2 separate regions of the Homo sapiens genome follow, and region 2 is linked to region 1. Evidence: promoter capture Hi-C in 16 types of primary human blood cells and fetal thymus (Javierre and others, 2016). All regions are on one chromosome and are shown on one strand. The core of a region is centred on a gene start or on the middle of the fragment in contact, and the rest is flanking DNA. Distances in the headings are between cores, read along the strand shown.

Evidence for each region. Contacts are between HindIII fragments. The CHiCAGO score rates a contact against its expected background, and 5 or more counts as called.
Region 2: a fragment that was not itself captured here is called in contact with the fragment with the promoter of TBK1 in region 1 in 3 of 17 cell types (activated CD4 T cells, non-activated CD4 T cells and total CD4 T cells); the score reaches 6.1 in activated CD4 T cells.

Annotation. Positions count from the first base shown.
Region 1 is chr12:64,449,049-64,454,677 of GRCh38, forward strand. It overlaps TBK1 (TANK binding kinase 1), which reads left to right and starts at 3,072. Exons shown (of 21, transcript NM_013254.4): 1 at 3,072-3,139. It overlaps XPOT (exportin for tRNA), which reads left to right. Exons shown (of 25, transcript NM_007235.6): 25 at 1-2,077. RefSeq lists a silencer at 2,943-3,412. The HindIII fragment of the contact is 9,573 bases long and covers 1,610-5,629 here.
Region 2 is chr12:64,546,901-64,552,692 of GRCh38, forward strand. It overlaps a transcript of RASSF3 not described here. Among named protein-coding and RNA genes, the nearest start is that of RASSF3-DT, 60 kb to the right of the region's middle. RefSeq lists an enhancer at 2,703-2,752. The HindIII fragment of the contact is 1,077 bases long and covers 3,031-4,107 here.

The DNA.
Region 1 (5,629 bases), core at 1,822-4,321:
GCCAGGTGTGATGGTGCACGCTCGTAATCCCGGCTACTCAGGAGGCTGAGGCAGGAGAATCGCTTGAACCCGGAAGGCAGAGGTTGCAGTGAGCTGAGATTGTGCCACTGCACGCCAGCCTGGGCAAGAGAGTAAGACTCTCTCTCAAAAAAAAAAAAAAAGAATTTAAAATCCCAATTTATTTTCTAACTCTTTTATTGGATGTATTTAGAACACAGTATACCTATAGTATACCTATGTGTTTATTATGTTTGTAAATGGTAACTGACATTTAATTATTAGAAGTACTTACCCCTGCCTTCCTCCATTTTTATTCATGGCTACTTGAGAAAGCAAAAGGAAAAAATAATAGTTATCAGTAGTGTCACTGGAAAGAAGAGAGGAGGGACAAAACTGAGCAGCAGAATTCGTATAGACATTTACGTTTAAATTCTAAAAGCCCAATTGAGATGTTCAGGGAGGGTTTGTTTTGCCCTTTGGCCTCATGAATGGGTTTCATGAATGGGCTTCAGTGGCTTATAAACTCTGTAAAATTCTATTCTAAATTTTGTACATTTATTTTGTTCCGGTTAATTCCAGAAGACATTTCAAACATTTTTCTTACACCATATAATAAAAATACTTAACTAAATTGACAGTTATAAAAATAAATCAGTGAAATGTACCTTATACTTTAATAAAAAATGTTTTCAGAAATAGATAAGTGAAAGCTGAGTGTTTCTTTGATAGGTTCCCCTGTACTATAGGAGTGATAATTGCAGCTATTGCAATAGTAGTAATTGTTAAATGGATACTAATGAATAGCATAGCATAGTGGGTAAGAGTTTATATAGCACAGGCTCTAGAATCAGATTAAGTAGGTTCAAATACCAGTTCTGCCAGTAACTGGTTTTAGAACCTTGGGCAAGTTAAAGAATGTCTCCCAGCCTCAGTTTCCCTATTTGTAAAATGGAAATAATGGTAGCTACCTCAAACCTCATTACGAATTCAATGAGTTAAACTTGAAAAGACTTATTACAGTAGCTGGCACATAAAGACTTGATAGTAGTTTATATGGATGCTATCTCATATTAGCATATATGGAATTAATAGTGTATCACTATACTTTTTTTTTCTTTTTTTTTTTTGAATAGAGATCAGTCTATCACCCAGGCTGGAGTGCAGTGGTGACATCATAGCTCACTGTAACTTCTCCCATACTCTACCAATCCTCCTGCCTCAGCATCCAGACTAGCTGTGATTACAGGTGTGCACCACCACACCCAGCTACATTTTTTTTTGGTAGAGACAGGGTCTCACTATGTTACCCAGTCTGGTCTCAAACTCCCGGCCTCAAGCAATCCTCCCACTGGCCTCACAATGTTGGGATTACAGGTATAAGCCACTGCACACGGCCTTACTATGCTATCAATTCCATATATGGAAAGGTGTTTTCCCTTTCAGAGCTCTTTAAAGCTCTGCAGAAGATTTACATGTGTTTATAGAGCTAAGAGAAATCAGGGCATGGAAATTGAGTGTGTAATAAAAATTAAACTCTTCATGTTATATAATCATGCATAACTTCTATCTTCATTCTCTGAAGTTGCCTAGAGCACCATCACAGCTAGGAAGCTTCCATCATGAATTACCTTATTTCCAAAAGCAAGTACTCAAATAATTGTCTCAAGAGAGGAAGGACAAAACTGTTACAAGCTGAAATATTTGGGGATTTGTTTGACTTGACTAGGGAACCACAAGTTTTCATATAATGCCTGATTTAGCCCTGTGCCTAACAGTTTAAATCTTAATGCTAATGTTAATTGCTTCCCAGTTGGTTGACCTTATAAGAAAACACTGTGTGGTATTTTAATGTGGTAAACATGTGAATGAAGGCCTGTGGCTCAGTTAATCACTCCCACAACTTTGAGCTGTGAGTTTTACTGGTGGAAGGAACTTTAACAGGTCTTCGCTCTTGTCATTAGATATCAAAGAACTGAAATTAGTTGGAATTGTAAGCAGTGAATAGATGTGTTGTTAGAATGATTCCATCACTTATACATTGTTTAAAATGCTAATAAAGTAACTTGCTTTGTAAGAATTCATTAGAGTGGACTTTTGTTATCTCCATTGTGCATTTGATAAAACTGAGGCTTAGAGAGGTAAGAGATTAGCTTTTAAGTCAGTAATTGGCAGCCGAGACAGCAACCCTAGGTCTGTTACATTCAAAAGCCTCTGAGCCACTCCGCATGACTTCCCATTCATTCGTGTTTGCTGCTGCTACTCTGGGAAACACCATCTTCCTCTTCCCCTCCACTCAGAAATTTAGCCCTAGATTAGCAGCGGTCTCTGCTCCCTCATGTTGAGAAAGGCCTGTTGTGCTGTCCGTGGGCAGAAGGGACCCCTTCAGAAAGCTATTCCTTATTGGGAATAGCGGCTTGAGATTTTGACTGCACGAATATTGCAGGACCTAATTTTAGTATTTAAGTTTTAGTTCTTAAATTCTTAAGTTTAGAGTTAGATACTCCAATACGGCCGTTTTCCAAAATACCGAGAGGGAATTAAATGAACATTTTTACATTAAGAATTTAATGTATTTCTGGGTGATGGGAAAATGAAAAAAACAATGTAAAGTCTGAATTACTGCGAGACGATAATCTGGCTCCACTGCAGCCAAAGTGGGCCCTTAAAACATAGAATCCATCCCTCCCAGCTCTGCCGGCCGTCTGTGCCTGCCCCCCACGTGTCCCACGTTCTGCACACCTGTAAATCTTGGGATGTAATCCCTTGCTCAGCGTCGGTCCGCCCTACTGTCGGCCAGCGCTCGGGGAAGGGGCGGGATTTGCAGTTGCGGGAATCCCAATTACTGTGTTCGCTGCTCAGGGCTCCTCATTCCCCTTTAGAGTAAAGGGCGAGGGCAACAGTGGACGGGGTGTCTCCAGACATCCCCCTCATTACCGTGGCCGCGGAAGCCGACTCGGCAGTTGCCGCCGCGGCTGTGGTGACTACCAGACGGGCCATAGGCGTGCGCACGCGCACCCGCACCGGCGCGCCGGCCGTCGGTCACGTGGCCTCCGGCCAGGGCTTGCGAAGCCGGAAGTGTCCTGAGTCTCGAGGAGGCCGCGGGAGCCCGCCGGCGGTGGCGCGGCGGAGACCCGGCTGGGTAAGTGAGACGGCCGCGGGCTGAGGGGCCAAGGCGGCGCGGGGCGCGGTCGGTCAGGCCTGCGCCGCCCGGCGGGGAGCGCTCCCGCCCCCTGTGGGAGGCTGGGATGCTGAGTCAGAGCGGGGGCGGGGGCGGGCGCACCGAGAAGCCCCGGACGACCCGAGGCCAAGCCATCCAGGACCCCGGCTGCGTGGACACTGCCTCTGGGGTGTGTGTCGGGTGGCCGTAGCCGGTGGAATGGTCGCGCGGGCCCTGTTACCTGCATCCCCGCTCCGCGCCGCGCGGCCGGTCCTCGACCTGCATCCCGTCCGGCGGCTTTGGGCATAAAGAGGACGACTCCGTTACCGGGCCTGGGCCCTGGCTGCCTGGGGAGGCAGGGGCACCTCTTTCCCTTAGACTCGCTGTTTTCTACCCTCTTTCCGAGCGTCGACACAACGGGCAGTTTTTAAATGTATTGATTTTTCAGAGGATTAAAAAGAGACGTTTCCTTAGAGTTTTAGTGATGTTCAGTCCGCAGAGGTTGACTCACACCGGAAATTAGAAGCATAAGATGTTTTAAATATATGCCGATGAAATACGAATTCCCAGACATTTCCTTGCTCCTCGTCTACCTGGCTTATGGGTTTAATTTGTAATCTCTATCCCAAGTATTCTTAGTAGGTGGCCTCAAAACAACTCCCAAGTAATTGCCAAATGTATAACCAAAGACTGGTCTTTTCCACTCTGAAACCCCAGTGTATGAATCACATAGGGGCAGAGTTTAGAAATCCTGGAACTTTGTCCATAGGCCATGTCGTCAAACCTGTTTTCATCCCTCAACAAATAGTAACTTTCGTTTTGGACGGTGTAAGGAAGTAGGCTGAAGACGGCATCATCAGCAACATAGTTGTTGAGTGTCTGCTTATATGCTTGTCAAAAATTTGGGAAGATTTATATGGCAAGCACGTTGTGGGTGTGCTGAGTCATGTTTTAACATGTTATTGTGGAGTTATTGGAAGATAATTTCAAAAGACATTTCCCCTGACCACTATTGTGATTACTGTTAAATAGAAACCATAGTTTTGTATTTGCATAGAGAACAGATATCTTAGCTGATAAATATTTTTCTTATTATCCTGAAGGTACATACATATAGGTACCTAATGGTACTATTTGCCATTTACAGTTACATTGATTAGGGAAGGTTTTTCGTTAGATAGTTGAGACGTTTGTTATTGTATCGTGAGTGAAATGTAATGACTGGCAAATGTGTATTCCTTATTTGTGAAAAGGGAATCTTATTTTTATTGCTTATTTCCTATAGTCGTATATAAAGTTTATCTAAATTAGATGGGTAGTAAAATTATATAAAAATATCCTACTATATCAGTGATTGGTAAAATTGAGACCCCTGACCATTCTGCATTTTCCTAACCCAGCTTGGGGATATTGGTGGTCATTAATTCATCACAGAATACCTAGTCTAGCATACTACTTTTTGCTTTAACTTACTGTGGAGGGATATTAAAATCCATGTTTTAATGACAATACAGCAGGTTTAAGGGGGCATGGTGGGACTAGTGTTTATGTTATGTTAGCATACATCAATTTTAGTCCAGTGTGGAGCTTGGATACTTTGTATACCTTGATAGATCCATAGCTTTTCAGTATTAAAGACTTGATAATACAGGCTACTTGGTACGTTTATATATTTATACTTGGAGGTTGGAGAAACTATCCTTAAATTAATTCCAGAAGAGTTCGTAACTTTTCAGGAATAATAATTTTTGCACCTTTCCTTTATGTTTGTCAGGTTCTGTGTAGATTGTGTAGATAAAATTTTAGCTTATGGGAATATTATGCAGTGACAACATTTGTCTTCATTAGTGTTTCTCTGCTCTGAAGGAAACAAAGTAATTTTTCCTATATTTGTTATATTTTACATTATTACTTTTCTTTATTTTAAAACACCTTAAATTATGTCATAAATTAATCTTTCAAAACATTTGAAGGAGGTAAGTAACAATATCACTCTCATCAACAAAGACAAAATTAGAAGAGAAATAGGTGTTGTTTTTGTTTGTTTTTGTTTCTTTTTGAGATGGAGTCTCGCTCTGTCACCCTGGCTGGAGTGCAGTGGTGCGATCTCAGCTCACTGCAACCTCTGCCTCCTGGTTTCAAGCAATTCTTCTGCCTCAGCCTCCCGAGTAGCTGGGATTACAGGCATGCGCCACCACGCCTGGCTAATTTTTTTGTATTTTTAGTAGAGGCGGGGTTTCTCCATATTGGCCAGGCTGGTCTCGAACTCCTGACCTTGTGATCCGCCCGCCTCGGCCTCCCAGAGTGCTGGGATTACAGGCATGGGCCACTGCACCCGGCTGAGAAATAGATGTTTCTTTCAGCCCTGTGTTAAGTGAATTAAATTGAATGTATGTCATTGGTTAATGTTTTTTTTTTCAAAGCTCATACAGCATTTTAGCCTTGAATATTGCTAGAAACTCAGATCTTTTT
Region 2 (5,792 bases), core at 2,319-4,818, 98 kb after region 1:
ATAGAATTTGGCCAAGAACCACAAAAACCATTCCCTCATTCTTATTTTGCTCCCACTTTTTGATATGGAGAGGACATTGAAAGATTGTTGGGGCCAGGCATGGTGGCTCACACCTGTAATCCCAACATTTGGGAAGCCGAGGCATGTGGATTGCTTGAGCCTGGGAATTCAAGATCAGCCTGGCCAACATGGTGAACCCCGTCTCTACTAAATATTAAAAAATGAGCCAAGTGTGGTGGCACACACCTGTAATCCCTGCTACTCAGGAGACTGAGGCACGAGAATTGCTTGAACCCAGGAGGTGGAAGTTGCAGTGAGCCGAGATCACACCAGTGTACTCCAGTCTGTGTGACAGAGAGAGACTTGATCTAAAAAAAAAAAAAAAAGCCAGGCACGGTGACTCACGCCTGTAATCCCAGCACTTTGGGAGGCTGAGGCAGGCGGATCACAAGGTCAAGAGATTGAGACCATCCTGGCCAACATAATGAAACCCCCATCTCTACTAAAAATACAAAAATTAACTGGGCGTGGTGGGACACACCTGTAGTCCCAGATACTCAGGAGGCTGAGGCAGGAGAATCGCTTGAACGCAGGAGGCGGAGGTTGCAGTGAGCGGAGATCATGTCACTGCATTCCAGCCTGGCAACAGAGTGAGACTCCGTCTCAAAAAAAAGAGAAAGAAAAAAGAAGGGAAGGAAGGACGGAAGGAAGGAAGGAAGGAACTTTTCAACTATAAAATATTTTAAAACATATTTAGTTATTTGTCAGCTTTAGAGTTTGATGAAAGCTGGTATTCAGTTTCTAAATTCAATACCATGAAGAAGATGAAACTCAACTTTGATCGATTTTTCAAATCAAATTCTTCCCCCCCACAACCTTGATTCAGGATCAAATTCCTGTTGTATTGCATATATTTTTGTGATTATAAAAACAATGCATGATTATTAAAGAAACTGTGGAAAATGTAAAAAGGTTAAGAAAAACGTTAAAATTGCCTATAATCCCACCACCCAGAGAGATATAATTGCCCTTAGTATTTTAGTGTCCTTCATTCCTCTCTTTTTTCAGTGTCCATTGTCTATATGTATTTCTTCGTAAAACTGGAAATCAGTATTTGGATAGATACAGACATAGATATGTTTTCACCCTTCCTTACAATGTGACCATGTTTCCTGCCGCTCTATATTCTCTGAAAAAGTGAGCTCTAAGGTGTAATATTTATGAATCTTTCATATTGATTTAACAATTCTACTTCATATCTTTTTAAATTTTTTATTGTATTTTATTTATTTATTTTGAGACAGGGTCTCACTCTGTCGCCCAGGCTGGAGTGCAGTGGCGCAATCACAGCTCACTGCAGTCTTGATCTCCTGGGCTCAAGGGATCCTCAGCCTCCCAAGTAGCTGGGACCATGGGCAGGCACCATCATGCCCAGCTAGTTTTTTTTATTTTTATTTATTTATTTTTTTTGTAGAGAAGAGGTCTCACCATCTTGGTCAGGCTGGTCTCGAACTCCTGGGCTCAAGCTATCCTCCTGCCTTGGCCTCCCAAAGTGCCAGGATTATAGGCATGAGCCACAGCACCTGGCCAACAATTTTACTTCTTTTGGTGCATTTCTTACTGTTGAACATGAAGCTGCAACAATATCTTTGTATGAAAATCTTTTCCTACATTTCTTCTTGTTTCCTTAATACAGATTCTGAAGGAGGATTTATCGGTCAAGAGTTTTAATAGCCCTTAATACATACTGCCAACTTCTTTAATAGGAACTTCATACCAGTTTATACCCTTTCCAGCAGTTCACAAACAAACTTAGCTCACTATAAATTCATCCATAGTCTCCTGAGTAATGTATTCCACCTAAAATCTTTAAATTTTAAATCCATTTTAAAATTCAATTTTAAAGGGCTTAGTGCTTTAAGATTTGGTGGGCAGGGTGAGGGAATGATCCAGTGGTTTGATCTGTTCCAATTTTCAAATTGTCATTAGTGAAGTTAAGACTCAGAGGTTAGTAATTTTTGTAAGCCCTTGATCTGGTCTTTCTCAGAGGATGTGGACTTCACAATCAATTGTCTTCAAGGCCCTGAGAGTGGATCCTTTCCCAAGTGGGAAAGGAAAGGGAAGGTCTGAGTGAACTCCCAGAAAAGTGGGGTACGATAGCCCAACAACACTTGAATTTCTAATTGGGGTAAGGTGGGGACATAAGGGTGAAGGTGTTAGAAGAGATACTGGAAATAAGGAAAACAGTCCTAGTTATTAAAATCCCTGAGGGGTTTGACTAAATGTGGAGAGACAGACTGTTCTTCTGCCAGTTGTAGATCCTACAGAAGACCGGGTGCAGTGGTTCTGGCCTATAATCCCAACACTTTGGGGGGATCACTTGAGCCCAGAAATTTGAGAACTGCCTGGACAACATAGTGAGACCCTATCTCTAAAAAGAATTTTTAAATGTTGAAAGCTAATCAGAGGCCACAAAGTCATTCTTAAAGTCATTGTGCACTTTGCTTCCTTTGTTGTATGTTTGTTTCCTTTGTAACTGATTTACTACTTTACACACTCAGATTTTTAATTATAGCAGCAATTACTAGATTCAATGACATAAAGTTACCATTTCTGTCAGTAAAGATTCAATACCAGCTAATTTCACACAGTTCAATTTCACACCTGGGGAATTAATTATTCTTAATCATTAGGAGTCAATGGTAAAACTTTCTGATGAAAGCACCTGTAGCAAGGCCTCTACCAAGCTCCCCTCCTGTGGGGGGTGTTGACATGGCGGCCAGCAGCCAGCACAGCCTCTCTCTCCTGAGCCCCATAAGCGGAGGTAGGGATACAGTAGTTGGTGTGTTTGTGACAGCAAAGCCACCAGAGGGAGCTCTAGCATTGACTCCTATATGTTTGTCTGTGTGCCACGGATTCAAAGAAAAACAATAAATATCTAATGATTGCTTGTGTTTTTGAGCACTCCTTGCACAGTCCTAAGGTTTAGACACAATCATATCAATATCATTTCATTGTTAACATGAATTAAGCTTCTTTGTGTCTGTCAGATATTCTTTCATGCTTACCACAAGTCTATCAAGATATTATTATTCTCACTTTGATTGATGAGGGAGGTGATTAAGTTTTACAGAAATTAAGTGATTTTACAAAAGAAGAAATAACACAGAGATTTTATCTATAGTCTCAGCGCCCCCCACCCCCTTCCCACCTCCATTAAAGTTCTCCTTCCTGCCCTCTCTTTTCTCTTTTCCTACTGGGAATCTAAAGGAGATAAATCTTGCTTTAAAACTAAGGAAACAAAGAAGAATGCGTTTTATTTTGTGTAAATTATTCTTCAATATATTTAACATGTAAGGGGAAAACAAGAAAGGGAAAGGAAACGAGAAGGGGAAAGAAAGGGAGAAGAGAGAAGAGGGGAGAGGAGGAGAGGAGAGGAGAAAGAAAAGGAGAAGAGAAGAGAAAGAAAAGAAAAGAGAAATAGCCAGGCACAGTGCCCCATGCCTGTAATCCTAGCACTTTGGGAGGCCGAGGTGGGTGGATCACCTGAGGTCAGGAGTTCAAGACCAGCCTGGCCAACGTGGCGAAACCCTATCTCTACTAAAAATACAAAAATTAGCCAGGTGTGGTGGTGCACACCTGTAATCCCAGAGGCTGACGTAGGAGATTCGCTTGAACCCGGGAGGCAAGGTTGCAGTGAGCCAAGATTGTGGCACAGCACTCCAGCTTGGACAACAGAGCAAGACTCCGTCTCCAAAAAACGAAAAGAAAAAGGAGGCCAGGAGTGGTGGTGGGTGCCTGTAACCCCAGCTACTTGGAAGGCTGAAGTGGGAGAATTGCGTGAGCCCAGGAGGAGGTTGCAGTGAGCCAGGATCTAGCCACTGCAGTCCAGCCTGAGAGAGGGAGAGAGACTCCATCTCAAAAAAAAAAAAAGAAAGAAAGAAAGGAAAAAAAAAAGAGAGAAAGAGCTGATGCTCATGTCCATAAAGCCCGAAAATGTTCCAATCCTGCCGGCTCACTGCTAAGGGAATACTTCAACCCACAGCACCCCACCTCCACCCACACATTCCTTAGGCTACTGTTTCTATGACTCCTTTTCCCTCCTCAAGCTTGCCCGAGATGGCTGTTTGATCTTGGTTTCACCCTTATTCAAATTCAGAAGTAGGGGCAGAGACCAGAGGAAGATGTTAGGAATATCCATAACCCCCAAAGATGGCCACTAGACTTACTTCTACAGCACTTTACAGTACCAGACATGTACAAAGTACCTATGCACAGATTAAGAGCAAGGACGGTCAAGGTATACAGCCGCATATTTGCTGAATGGACTTAGTTAAGTCACTTAATCTCATCCATAAAATGTATGTAATAGGCGGGCACTATAACATGCAAAATGTATTTAATAGGCTCACTCCTGTAATCCCAGCACTTTGGGAGGCTGAGGCGAGTGGATCACTTGAGCCCAGGAGTTTGAGACCAGGCTGGGCAACATGGCAAAACCCTGGCTCTACAAAAAATGCCAAAAATTAGCCGGGCATGGTGGTGCGCGCCTGTAGTCCCAGCTACTTAGGAGGCTGAGGTGGGACGATCACTTGAACCTGGGAGGTTGAGGCTGCAGTGAGCCATGATCATGCCACTGCACTCCAATCTGGGAGACAGAGTAAGACCCTGTCTCAAAAATAATATGCATGTAGTAAATGTAATCATGTCTACTACTTAGCATTGCTGTGGAGATTTAATTAGGCAATGCATAGAAAAGTACTTAGCCTGGTGTTTGGTGGGAAACTTCAATTAATGTTAACTAATATTATTGTTTTCTTTAATACTCACAACAATCGTATTTGTCCATTTAGCCTAGAACTTGGCATAGACACATGGTTTGTAAGCGTGTTTGTGGTTAACAGCAGTCTTCAGTTAAAGAGAGGCGAACCAACTTGCCAAAGGTCCACAGCTAGTTTTACAACTACGAAATGTTTTCCAAAATATTTTCAGTTTTTCTGTGAGACTGAGAGATATTATCTTCAAATAGATTACGAGATGTGCACAGCAACGTCCACCCGCCTTACACAAGAGCAAACAGCTTTCCAAAAGCCATCAGAAAACCCCTGGGGTTTGTTGGTCCAAGAACAGAAACAATGCAGTCACACCCAGACCCTAAATTTAGGGGGGCCTTAGAGTTAGTTTTATTTAAATATTGTAATGTGACTCTGAGCAAGCAACATTTTCTCTGTGCTTTGTTTTTTAAAGGACATGGGAAAATTTACTTTGGGGAGCCAGGGCGCTTGGCTAGAAAGGGAAGGAGGAAAGAGAGAAAGGAAAGGGTAGAGGGAAAGCTGAGACCTGAGACCCAGGAGAACTCGGGCAAGAGATTTGAACCCTGGGTTCCACTGCCCTTATTTTCTTTTTTTAATTTTATTTTTAGTTCTGGGGTACATGTGCAGGATGTGCAGGTACATGTGCAGGATAAATTTAATTTTTATTTTTAGTTCTGGGGTACATGTGCAGGATGTGCAGATTTGTTACATAGGCAGATGTGTGCCATGGCAGTTTGCTGCACCTATCAACCCATCACCTAGGTATTAAGCCCAACATCCACTAACTATTTTTCCTAAGGCTCTCCCTCCCGCTACCCCACCTCCTGACAGGCCCCAGTGTGTGTTGTTCCCCTCCCTGTGTCCATGTGTTCTCATTGTTCAGCTCCCACTTATAAGTGAGAACATGTGGTGTTTGGTTTTCTGTTCCCGAGTTAGTTTGCTGAGAAAAATGACTTCCAGCTCCATCCATGTCCCTGC